Regions from separate parts of the Homo sapiens genome. Here region 1 is linked to region 2. Evidence: promoter capture Hi-C in human tissues and cell types (Jung and others, 2019). All regions are on one chromosome and are shown on one strand. Each heading gives the region's core, a stretch centred on a gene start or on the middle of the fragment in contact. The rest is flanking DNA. Distances are from core to core; before and after follow the strand shown.

Region 1 (5,461 bases), core at 1,885-4,384, 330 kb after region 2:
GAGACCATGGTCATAAGTGAATTCAAAAGTTGTCTATTAAACGGGGTGCTGTAATGTTCCATTTTATTTTTTCCTACACTGGACACCTGTGCACTGATAGAGACTCATATATAGGCTGTACCTTCTGCCCATGGCTGTGGGGAACCAGGACTGCAGAGGAAGCATGTGAGTGAAGCCACCGGAAGCAAGCAAATGGAACAAAACCAGCACCACGACCACCACCACCACCACCACCACCATCACCACCATCACCACAATACAAATACTCTCTTTGATTGGTCCTCTGGGTAGATAAAATGTTATCAAATCACCTCCAAGCTTTCTTTACTGATTCTTCATCTGCTCAAACTATTTTTTAAGATTTGAACAGAATGACACCTAATGATCACTGTCTGAGGAGTTTAGGGTTTTTATTTTCTTGCCTGTAACACTCAGTGGTGACCAGGACGAGGAGCATGTATGTGTTGAAGGGTGCGGGCTGCGTGAAGCCTCCCTTCTGCCCCATCCGCAATCCCTGACATCTCACTACTCACATTCTTAGATCAGTCTCCGCCAGGTCTGAACATTTTGGAAATAAAAATCAGATAAAAATGAAAAAGTGAAACTGAAAAAAAAAGAAAGCTAAAAGTGAAATGACCTAAAAGAATGACCCCATGGTCTCAGGCTCAAGAAAGAGGAGACAGGGAGTGGCGAGACGTTGACGCCTGGATCATGCATTGGTTAGACATGCAATTAATAGAAGCAGCCACAGCCAGGCATGGGGCGGGCACTGGGGTACAGGTGGGGTTTCCCAGCCTTGCCCCAAGAGCTAAGGGGAGGAAGGAAAATGACCCCTCTCCACATTACAGCAATGACAGAGAGGACAACCCTTGGGGGCTCTCTTTCTTCTAGACAGAGCCTCATTTCTTTCTGTGTCTGGCTGCTACAACTTCCCTGAACTGGCTTCAGCTTCTTCTGTCTCTGTATCTTCATGTTTCTGTTTTCTCATCTGTAAAATGGGGATAACGCTGGTGCCTACAAAATGAAAGCATGCATGTAAAATGCTTACAACCCTGCTTGGTGCCCGATAACACAATGAGCTCTTATCAGCACCATTGTTATTTTTATTTCTGGTAGTAATGCTCTGCCATTTCTGCAGAGTAGCTTCTCCTTCCCACCTGCCTGCCCCCAGGTGAGTTGGCTTTTCTTTTTTCTTTCTTTTTAACCTCACAGACAAGTCTTCTCATCTGCTCTTGTGATTTTGAAGTCTCCAGGTCCTATGACTTTGGCATTCTCTAAGGAGCTACCCACATCACTTAGAAGCTTCTGGGACACAACAGCCCTTATTGAATCCCAGTGCTGGGAGCCTGTTTCCTGGGCCCCATGGCTTGCCTTGGACTGGTGCTCCAGGTACAGGGCCTGTCAGGGGCGTCTGTCCTCTATTTCAGGCCACCACTGCAGAGGGGCCTGTTGGGGAATCACTCGTGTCCATGAAAAACACTCAACAAAAAGATGCCGACGACGTTGACACAGGTTCCAGCAGGGTCAGAATGTCTAGTTTCCACATGAAAACACTGTGAGGCAGCCAGGAGGAGAAAGTCTCTGAAGCTGTGCCTTCAGAAGCCGTTTTCTCCTTGCACCCTGCTGCCCTTGTCTGTCAGCCGTCTGCTTGCTCACTTTCAGAAACTCGAATGACAAACCTGCAACCGTCAGAGGATCTCTCACAGAGGTGGCCTTGCCTCTGCCACTCCCTGTCACCAGTCTGGGCCTCTCTTGGGGCTAGGGGGCGAGGCTGCCGAGAAAGTTCAGGTGACTCAACTGCAGTCAGGTCAGCCAGCAAGGGATTTGTCCTGAGCCTATCTCTCCTGGATGCCACCAGCAGGGCCAGCCTACAGGCTGAGCAGAGAGGCTGGAAGAGACCAGAGGACCGAGATTTTCCAGGGGAGGGCAGAAGAACATGCTCAGCTCTGGGTGGGGACCTCCTGTTGGGATTCCCATTCCTTGTCTCACCAGGACAGACCAAGGAAGCAGCCCGTGCTTCCCCAAAGCAGGCGCTAGTCCCTGGCATTACTGCCTCTGACCACCTGTGTGGCTTTGACTGTGGTTCCCGACCATCCTGGGCCTCGGTTGCCTTATTCAGTAGGGAGAAGAGAGAATGGATGATTTGCAACTGCCTTTGCCTGCCAGCATTCATGAGACTCAGATATGATTTGGTACCTGCGGCCTTTGTCCCAGGTAGTGGCCTACTTGCGTGCTCTGTCCTCGGTGGTCACCGCAGAAGGCTTAGCATGGACGTAGAATGCATTCTTTTTGCTTTCAATCAAGGCATTCCCCCCCCACCCCCACCCCCCCACACACACAAAAGCGTCATGCAGCCTGTAGTGTTTAAGGACTTGGAATATTCAGCTCCTTGTCCTGAGCTCAGAGCCTGGCCTGTCAACAGCAGCAGGAGGGAAGGGGGAGAGTTTGCGGAGAGCTCCTAATCCCGTGTGAGCAGAAAGAATGTGGTTTGGTTTCTTTTCAGGCATGTCAGCTTTTACGCTGGGCTTAGTTAAAAATGACAGAATGGGAACTGCCTTAAGAATGATTTTCCGATGTCTCCATAAATAACGAGACTAGTTTGTGTGCAGGTTTTGAGGAATATCTTGCTACTCCAGTTTTGCACGTTAACTGGATCTTACTTGGAAACAGTATTTCTAACGTCTTTCCCCACACCTAAAAATCTGCTGGAGAAAAGTGAATTCATGTTTTTGAAAAACATGGCATTTTTCACCCCATTGCTTTGTGAGCCTACTTCAGTGAATGTGGTAATCTTCTTATTGAATATTTATTGTGTGTGCAGAAGAGAAAAGAGGCAGTGAAGAAGCAGGAAAATACCTTCTGAGGGAAATATACTTTCCTAGTCAATGCACTGCATACCCAGGGAGCAAAAGTGTCAATTGAATGACTCTTCCCAACCATCACCTTGCTCTTGGCAAGTTCATCAGGTATCCTTCTATGGCAGAAAAGAAAAGCCCCTTTTTTTCCTGGCTGGCTTCCTAAACACAACAGGAGGCTCCAGGGGGTCTAGTTAGCAGGCTGAGGCTCTCTTGTACCCAGCCTCACCTGCGTACCTAAGCATTCAGGAAAGACCAAACACCTTAAAGTGGAGTGCAAGATGGAAGCATTGTCGTTCATCTTCTAAACTTCAGTAAGTGGAAACATTTTCCATGATTGGAGAGGAGCCTCTTCCTCGAAGCAGCCACTTACCCTCTAAGCTGTATATTTCACAAAGTTAAATTTTTATGTCTAGTGTCATCAGTTTCCCTTAGAGGAGAACATCTGTAAGTAGACCATCACTGCGGGCTAGGCAAATCCCATCGTGTATTGATTCTGCCCTCTGTCTACTGATTGCTCACCTGGACTCCAATATATATAACAATATAATTTCTCAGGGCCTTGTGTATTTTCCCATTAGGTTCAGTTTACTCTAATTGCCAGGACCTCACTTTGGTGGTTGGCTGGATGCAGGGAACTTTTTTGGCAGTGAGCCGTGGGTTCCTTCTCATCTTGCTTCTGAGCTCTTAGAGTGCCTTTCTTGAGGAACCTTACTAAGACCCTCCCAGCTGTCCCAAACCCTTCAAAGGCTAGCTTACACTTGTTCCTTCTGAACAAAGCCCACTCCAGCTAAAATCAAGTATGGTGGACAATTCAGCTAGCTCCTTTGCTGGCGTGACATAGCACTGAACATTTCTAAAAGCAGCTCCATGCTCTAGAACACACATGTCTAAGCTTAAACTCTGCATGCAGAATACACTGCCCTGCCATAGACAGATGTTGAGCAGTCTGACTTTGCATTGTGGACACTGTATATAATTACCTTTTATCTGTTTCATCCTACAGGACTCTTCAATGCTTGCTGGTACTATTTTTTAGGATGTAAACTCCTTCTATAGAGCAAGTCTGCTAATCTTGCTTGGCACAACGGCCAAAAGCACGCTACGTGCAGGCAGATAAGTATTTTGATGGCACCCAAAACAGCCCCGTGTGTCCTTGTTAAATTTATTTATAGCCTTTGGCCCTTCTGAAAAGCATGATAGGCTGTGATTTTCTTAGTTAAATAAAAAAAAAATCATACACATATAGTGTTACTTTTCCTATAAGGCATGGGCGGCTTGTTCCCATTTACAGGTAGAGAAGGGCAGACCCATTTTCTGCCCTGTAGCTTTGGGCTCCTTTTAGAGATGATGTCTGGAATGACAGTGGCATCTAGGTGCTGGTGTTGGACAGTGGGAGAAATTGTTTGTTTCTAATCCCTTAGAAGTATTTTTGTTTCAAGGAGAACCTAATTTGCTTTTGATTTCATTGATTTTCACTTTTTTCCCCTACCCCTTGCCAAGATATAAGGTAAGCAAGGAAAGGCATTGAATAAACAGAAGGCCAGAGTTCAAATCTACTTTTTATAAAAGTGGTGACTTTGCTGGTGGCAGAGTCTAGGAAGCATGAGAAATCCTCTTTTGGAATGAGTTGGTGCACAGAGCACCTTCTCCCATGCCCTGTCCTGACTTCTCCTTAAGGAAATAGACACAGCATGGTAGCCGGGCAATGCCATCTCTCCAGCCACCTCCCACCTCCTTCCCCCACCTCCAAAGTGGTGCTCATTTTCTCTAAATGTGTATATGCCTCAGATAAACCAACATGGATAAAATTGAGTAAGTCATCTCTGGGTTTTCTTTAATTTTCCTCAGGTTAAAGGGGACACTACTTCTCTACTACTCCCCTACATTAAACAGTGGTTGGGTTTCATTAATAATTATGCAGTGTTTCATTATTGCAATGTGAGCAGGTCAGCCTTCCAAATTCTTTTTAAGAGCACCAAACAGACAGAAGAGCTTTCTTCACCTCTTAGGTGAAGACAATTCCAACCTGATTTAAATGATAAGGGGTAGGTGGGTGCAGCAGCGGGAAGCTCATGCTTGTGTGGTATTAAGCTTCTGTCCAAGGATATAGAAAAGGTGGATATCCTGGAAGGATGTTGAGCTACAATTTTATGATAAAGGTATTGCTTAACCCATTTTCCAGGGGATGAAGTTGTAGTTAAAAAAGACCTATGCCTGAAGCTTGGCAAAGAATGAATTCCTGGAATTGCCTCTCTCCCTTCTCTATCCCATTCTCTATCCCACCCACCCACTTACCTATAATCCTCATATTTCCCACGAATGCCTGAACTTGAACTACAGTTGCCTGTTCATTGGATTATTTTACAAATCAGGAAGTCACATTTTAAAACCTGGGACCCCGGTCATTTACCTACCTTCACCCCAAGGTTCTAAATCCACTAGGATACAAGGACTTTTTTATTACCAAACAAATCAGACAAAAAATGTAAAAAATCAGACTTTAAATGTTTTATTTTGTTGATTCTGTACACCGTCAGGAAACAAGGTTAGAAGTAAAATAAAGTGCCAGTTAAATTCGGCTACTACCAACAACCAAAACCTTA
Region 2 (5,569 bases), core at 1-2,500:
GAGCTCAGGAGTACAAGAACAGCCTGGGCAACACAGTGAGACCTCCTCTCTACAAAAAATACAAAAATTGGCCAGGCGTGGCCAATAATACCACCTTCTTGGGAGGCTGACGTGGGAGGATCGCTTGAGCACGGGAGGCGGAGGCTGCAGTAGCTGAGATGCTGCCCACTGCACTCCAGCCTGGGCGACAGAGCGACACCCTGTCTCAAACAACAATAAAATAAATAAATGCCTGGCTCAGTTGACACTCTTCCTCTTCCGCCCCAACACTGATGGGACCCGGACAGTTCTGAGCCCTGCCTGAATGCTGCTGCCCCATCTCTATGACCGCGGGAACTGTCTAGATTTCACACCCAGTGTCAAACATGCCCTCGGCCAAAGTCGGAATTGAGTCTGGGTCACCCGTCCAAGACGCTGGTCCCTGCTCCACCGCTGCTACTACAAAGGGACTGAGTCTAGCTTCCAGCCAGGCCTTCGGGAGGCACTCCAGGCGGGGACTAAGCGCAGTCTCGCCAGGCTGCAGAACCAGTGGCCAGCAAAGGCGGCCCCCGCCGGAGCCCTGGATTCAATTTGCTGTTGTTCATTCCGAGAAATTCGGAGACTGGGGCCACGCTGGCTTTCCCGGCGCGGGCGCGCGGGTGGGGGAGGTGGCGCAGCCGAGGTTACCGGCTTCACGGAGGGGCACCGAGTGTCCTCTCCCGGAGAGGGGTGTCCCGGCGGCCAGGACGCCAGGAGGGGTGCCCCCCGTCTTCCTGCTGCTGCCCAGCTCCTGTCTGGAACTCCTGGCCGCCCATCCCAGCCCCGCTGCGGGCTCCCAGCGGGCCCCTCTAGCCCTGGGCACCCCGCAAGACCCCCACCTGGGGCACCCGCAGGTTCCCACCTGATCTGAGCACTCCGCATATCCCACCCACCAGGAGCACCCCGCAGATTCCCACCCACTCTGAGCACCCGGCAGATTCCCCCCACCCCACGATCCGGGAGTCCCCCAGCCCCCACATGCTGCGGCTGCGCCCGCGTCCCGCCGCGGAGGCCCAGGCCCGGCTCACCTGGCGGGGCCGCGGCGGCGGCGGCGAAGACTCCGAGCAGCAGCAGCAGCGACCACAGCAGCGTCGGTCGCATGGCCCCGGGCGCTCGGCGGCGGCTCAGGTCGCGGCCGGGGCCCCGCTCGGGGTCCGCGGAGCCGCTCACGTCGCCGCCCAAACCGCCATGGCGAGCGCAGGGCGCGCAGGGCCCGCCTCTTCCCGAGCAGCAGCGGGGCGTCCCGGTGGAGGGGATTCGGCTCGGCCGCCCGCGCCCCCGCCCCCGCCCCGTCCCGCCCCCGAGGCCACCGCCCCCGCGCGGGACTTTCCCGCTCCGGGAACCGCGGCCCTGGGGGGCCTCTGCGGCTGCAGCGCGGGGACCCCACGCAGCCGGCCTCCCAGAGCGCGGAGCCTCCCGGAACGTCCTGGAGACTGGAGCCCCGCGGGACGCCCACCTTCGGGGGCCGCGATCCTTCCGGAAGGGCCCCGCGAGACCCCGGCCCAGACCCCCGGGCTTTCCCTGGAGCCCCCACCCCTCCTGACCCCCCCCAACTCTCCTCTCGGGTGCTTGATCGCACAATTCGAGGATTCGCCCCTTTAGTCGAAATGTTTGCTTTAATAGCCCCCAAAGTACATATTAAGCTTTCAACTCTCCCCCGCCCCCCTCCCCTTTTTTTTGAGACGGAGTCACCAGGCTGGAGTGCAGTGGGGCGATCTCGGCTCACTGCAACCTCCGCCTCCAGTCAACCCCATTTTGAAAAGGGTTTTAAGGGGAAGGAGTTAGAAAGGGCCCAGTGAAGGAGGAGGTGGGGCTCTGGGGGTGGGGGGAATGGCCTCCGAGCAGGGGGAGGGAGAGACAGAAACTTCCAGCATTTCTAAATGGCGTGGGGTTTGCCCTGGAGCCGGCGGCGGTGCACGAGTAGGAAGTCCTTTAGCAGCTGGGCAGCCGCAGGCCCGCTCCCCAGCCCGAGCCTGCACCATGTCGTTTGACGCCTGTTGGGAGAGGGTTTTAAATCTGCCCTGTTCTTCCAAGATGCGTCATAAAGCTAGCGCAGCAAAGGAGGGACGCGGTGCAGGGAGACCAAGAATTTAAAAACAGGTCGTCCCGGGAGCCCACTGGACACGTTAGCAAAAATGGGTTTTGCAACATAGAGCTTTTCTTTTGCTCTTCCCACATTCTTGCATTTCCTCTTTGTAGAACTATTTTGAAATTGGCCACGCTCGTGAAAATACGTGATGAAATACCTCGCAGACAATTGAATTATGCATTGGATATTTCTAGATACAGAGATGTATTTATATGTTACACGAAAAAAGCGGGCGATAACTTGGAATCACTTCAAAAAGTATGCACTGATGCCAGGCGCGGTGGCTCACGCCTGTAATCTCAGCACTTTAGGAGGCCGAGGTGGGCGGATCACATGAGGCCAGGAGTTGGAGACCAGCCTGGCCAATATGGCTGAAACCCGTCTCTACTAAAAATACAAAAATTAGTCAGGCGTGGTGGCCGGCGCCTGTAATCCCAGCTACTTGGAGGGCTAAGACAGGAGAATCACTTGAACCCGGGAGGCGGAGGTTGTAGTGAGCGGAGATTGCGCCACTGCACCCCGGCCTGGGTGACAGACCGAGACTCCGTCTCAAAAAAAAAAAAAAAAAAAAAAAAAAAAAAAAAAAAAAAAGGCACTGAAAATGACAGGATTGCAAGAAGGATTCTGTTTTCAAACAAATAAATAAAATTACAAGAAAACGACTGGGTGAAAGATGCCAACATTCTAACAAGAAATCGGTTACAGGATCACACAAGTGTCATCCGCCTCAGGGGATGTAACCGAATGCTGGTTCAGTCGCTGGCTGCTTGCAGAGTCTAACAAGAGCAAGATGTGGTGGAAAGAAAGTGACTTTATTTCCAAAGCTAGCAAGGGGAAGTGGTTGGATTCCTATCCCCAAAGCAATCACGTTGAATTGTGGGGTATGGGGAGTGGGAAAGGCAAGGGTTATTTATTTTATTTATTTATTTATTTATTTATTTATTTATTTATTTATTTATTTGAGACAGAGTCTCCGTCACCCAGGCTGGAGTGCAGTGGTGTGATCTCCGCTCACTGCAAGCTCCGCCTTCTGGGTTCACACCATTCTCCTGCCTCAGCCTCCCGAGTAGCTGGGACTGCAGGCGCACGCCACCACACCCGGCTAATTTTTTGTGTTTTTTGTAGAGATGGGTTTTCACCGTGTTAGCCAGGTTGGTCTCGATCTCCTGACCTCGTGATCTGCCTGCCTCGGCCTCCCAAAGTGCTGGGATTACAGGCGTGAGCCACCGCGCCCGGCCAAGGCAAGGGTTTAAAACGGGAAAACGATGTGGAAGTCAGGCAAGGATTATGCTAAGTACACTGTCTGTTTGTCTTGTTCCGGTGGCTGTCTTGGGTCCTAGTCCACAGGAAGCCTGTGGTCTGGCATCATCTCAACAATGGCTGGATTCTTAATTAGACGCCTTGAGGTCACATGTGGAATTTTGCAGAAGAATCTCCAGGCTTGGTCTGTCTGTCTCAAGATTAGCGTCTGGAACCTCTAAGAAGGCACGTAACTAGACACGGGCATACAGTTAGATAAATGTGAAGGGAGTTTATACGGTGAAGAAGGGAGGGACATGGAGTCCATTTTAAGGCTAAGGGAAAAGGCTTCTGCAGTTTGTTTCAAGGTTACATCTTTGATGGCTGGGTGCGGTGGCTCACGCCTCTAATCCCAGCGCTTTGGGAGGCTGAGCCAGGTGGATCACCTGAGATCAGGAGTTCAAGACCAGCCTGGCCAACATGGTGAAACTCGTCTCTACTAAAAATACAAAAATTAGCCAGGCGTGGTGGCATGTGCCTGTAATCCCTGCTACTTGGGAGGCTGAGACAGGAGAATCACATGAACCCAGGAGGTGGAGGTTGCCGTGAGCTGAGATCATGCTGCTGCACTCTAGCCTGAGCCACAGAGCAAGACTCTGTCTCAAAAAAAAAAAAAAAATTGTAACCTGTATATCATTCTAAAGAAATACTTTTGGCCAGATGTGGTGGCTCACACCTGTAATTCCAGCACTTTGGGAGGCCGAGGTGGGTGGATCACCTGAGGTCAGGAGTTCAAGACCAGCCTGGCCAACATGGTGAAACCCCATCTCTACTAAAAATAGAAAAATTAGCCAGGCATAGTGGCAGGTGCCTGTAATCCCAGCTACTTGGGAGGCTGAGGCATGACAATTGCTTGAACCTGGGAGATGGAGGTTGCAGTGAGCTGAGACAGCACCACTGCACTCCAGCCTGAGTGCAGAGTAAGGCTCCATCTCAAAAAAAAAAAAAAAAGAAAAGAAAAAGAAATACTTTTGTGCCTAATTTTATAGTGAGTTGTGTATTTGTTTATAAAGAGGGCTCCATCTATTATATACACTTCAGCCCTACAAACCCTGAATCTGCACCATCCCTTTCCATTAATTCCTTACCTTGTAATCAGTTGATCTTCCTGAAGCATTTCTAATAGCCTAGAGGGACTCCTCTCACCTCCCTCAGGAGAGTGGGTGGGGGATGGCAGAAAGAAGCCAACATTTTTTGCTGGCCAGTGGTGCTTCTCTAGGTATTATAACACTCAGACCTCCCAGTTAGGCAGGCGATGGCTGTCCCATGGGGACACTAGCAGAGTTCAGTGACTTGGCCTGTGGTGGGTTTGCACTGCAGTAGGTCTGCTAAACTGTAACTGCATTTCCTAGAATTCCCCTCCCTGAAAAGTTCTGAGGTAACATGGGCAGGGAAGGATGTTTGTGTGTGTCTTGGTCCATTTTCTGTTGCTTATAACAGAATATCTGAAGCTGGGTAATTGATAAAGAAAAGGCATTTATTTCTTACATTTTGGGAGGCTGAGAAGTCCAAGGTCTAGGGACTAAATCTGGTGAGGGCCTTCTTGCTGGTGGAGATTCTCTGCAGAGTCATGAGGTGGTCAGGGCATCACATGGCAAGGGGGGCTGAGGGTGCTAAGGTGCTCGGATTTATCTTCCTCTTTTTTTTTTTTTTCTTTTGAGATGGAGTATCACTCTGTTGCCTAGGCTGGAGTGCAATGGTGCAATCTTGGCTCACTGCAACCTCTGCCTCCTGGGTTCAAGCAATTTTCCTGCCTCAGCCTCCCAAGTAGCTGGGATTACAGGCACCTGCCACCACACCCGGCTAATTTTTGTATTTTTAGTAGAGTTGGTGTTTCACCTGTTGCCCTGGTCTTGAACTACTGACCTCAAGTGATCCACCTGCCTCGGCCTCCCAAAGTGTTGGGATTACAGGAGTGAGCCACCATGCCCATCCCCTCTTTTATAAAGCCACCAGCCCCACTCCCATGATAACCATTGGTCCATGAACCCATTAGTCCATGAATGAATCCACCCATCCATGAGGGCAGGATCACCATAACCAATCACCTCTGAAAGGCCTCATTCCTCCATACTGCCATATTGGGAATCAAATTTCCAGCACGTGAAATTTGGGGACACATTCAAACCCTAGCAATGTGCGAGACTTGGAAGATGGAAGGAA

The links. The method cuts DNA at HindIII sites, captures the fragments that hold promoters and counts their contacts. A contact is called where the count stands out against the background at its distance.
Region 1: a fragment that was not itself captured here is called in contact with the fragment with the promoter of IFNGR2 in region 2 in 2 of the 25 tissues and cell types used here (H1 embryonic stem cells and dorsolateral prefrontal cortex).

What each region holds. Positions count from the first base shown.
Region 1 is chr21:33,072,304-33,077,764 of GRCh38, reverse strand. It overlaps OLIG1 (oligodendrocyte transcription factor 1), which reads right to left. Exons shown (of 1, transcript NM_138983.3): 1 at 5,352-5,461. Among named protein-coding and RNA genes, the nearest start is that of OLIG1, 4.9 kb to the right of the region's middle. The HindIII fragment of the contact is 4,648 bases long and covers 811-5,458 here.
Region 2 is chr21:33,399,094-33,404,662 of GRCh38, reverse strand. IFNGR2 (interferon gamma receptor 2) reads right to left here and starts at 1,250. Exons shown (of 7, transcript NM_005534.4): 1 at 1,047-1,250. The coding sequence starts at 1,119. RefSeq lists cis regulatory regions at 151-651, 1-680, 1,248, 1,525, 1,535 and 2 more, silencers at 682-731, 872-921, 942-1,021, 1,032-1,571 and promoters at 1,126-1,530, 1,125-2,292, 1,664-2,302, 1,146-2,302. The HindIII fragment of the contact is 6,342 bases long and covers 1-4,510 here.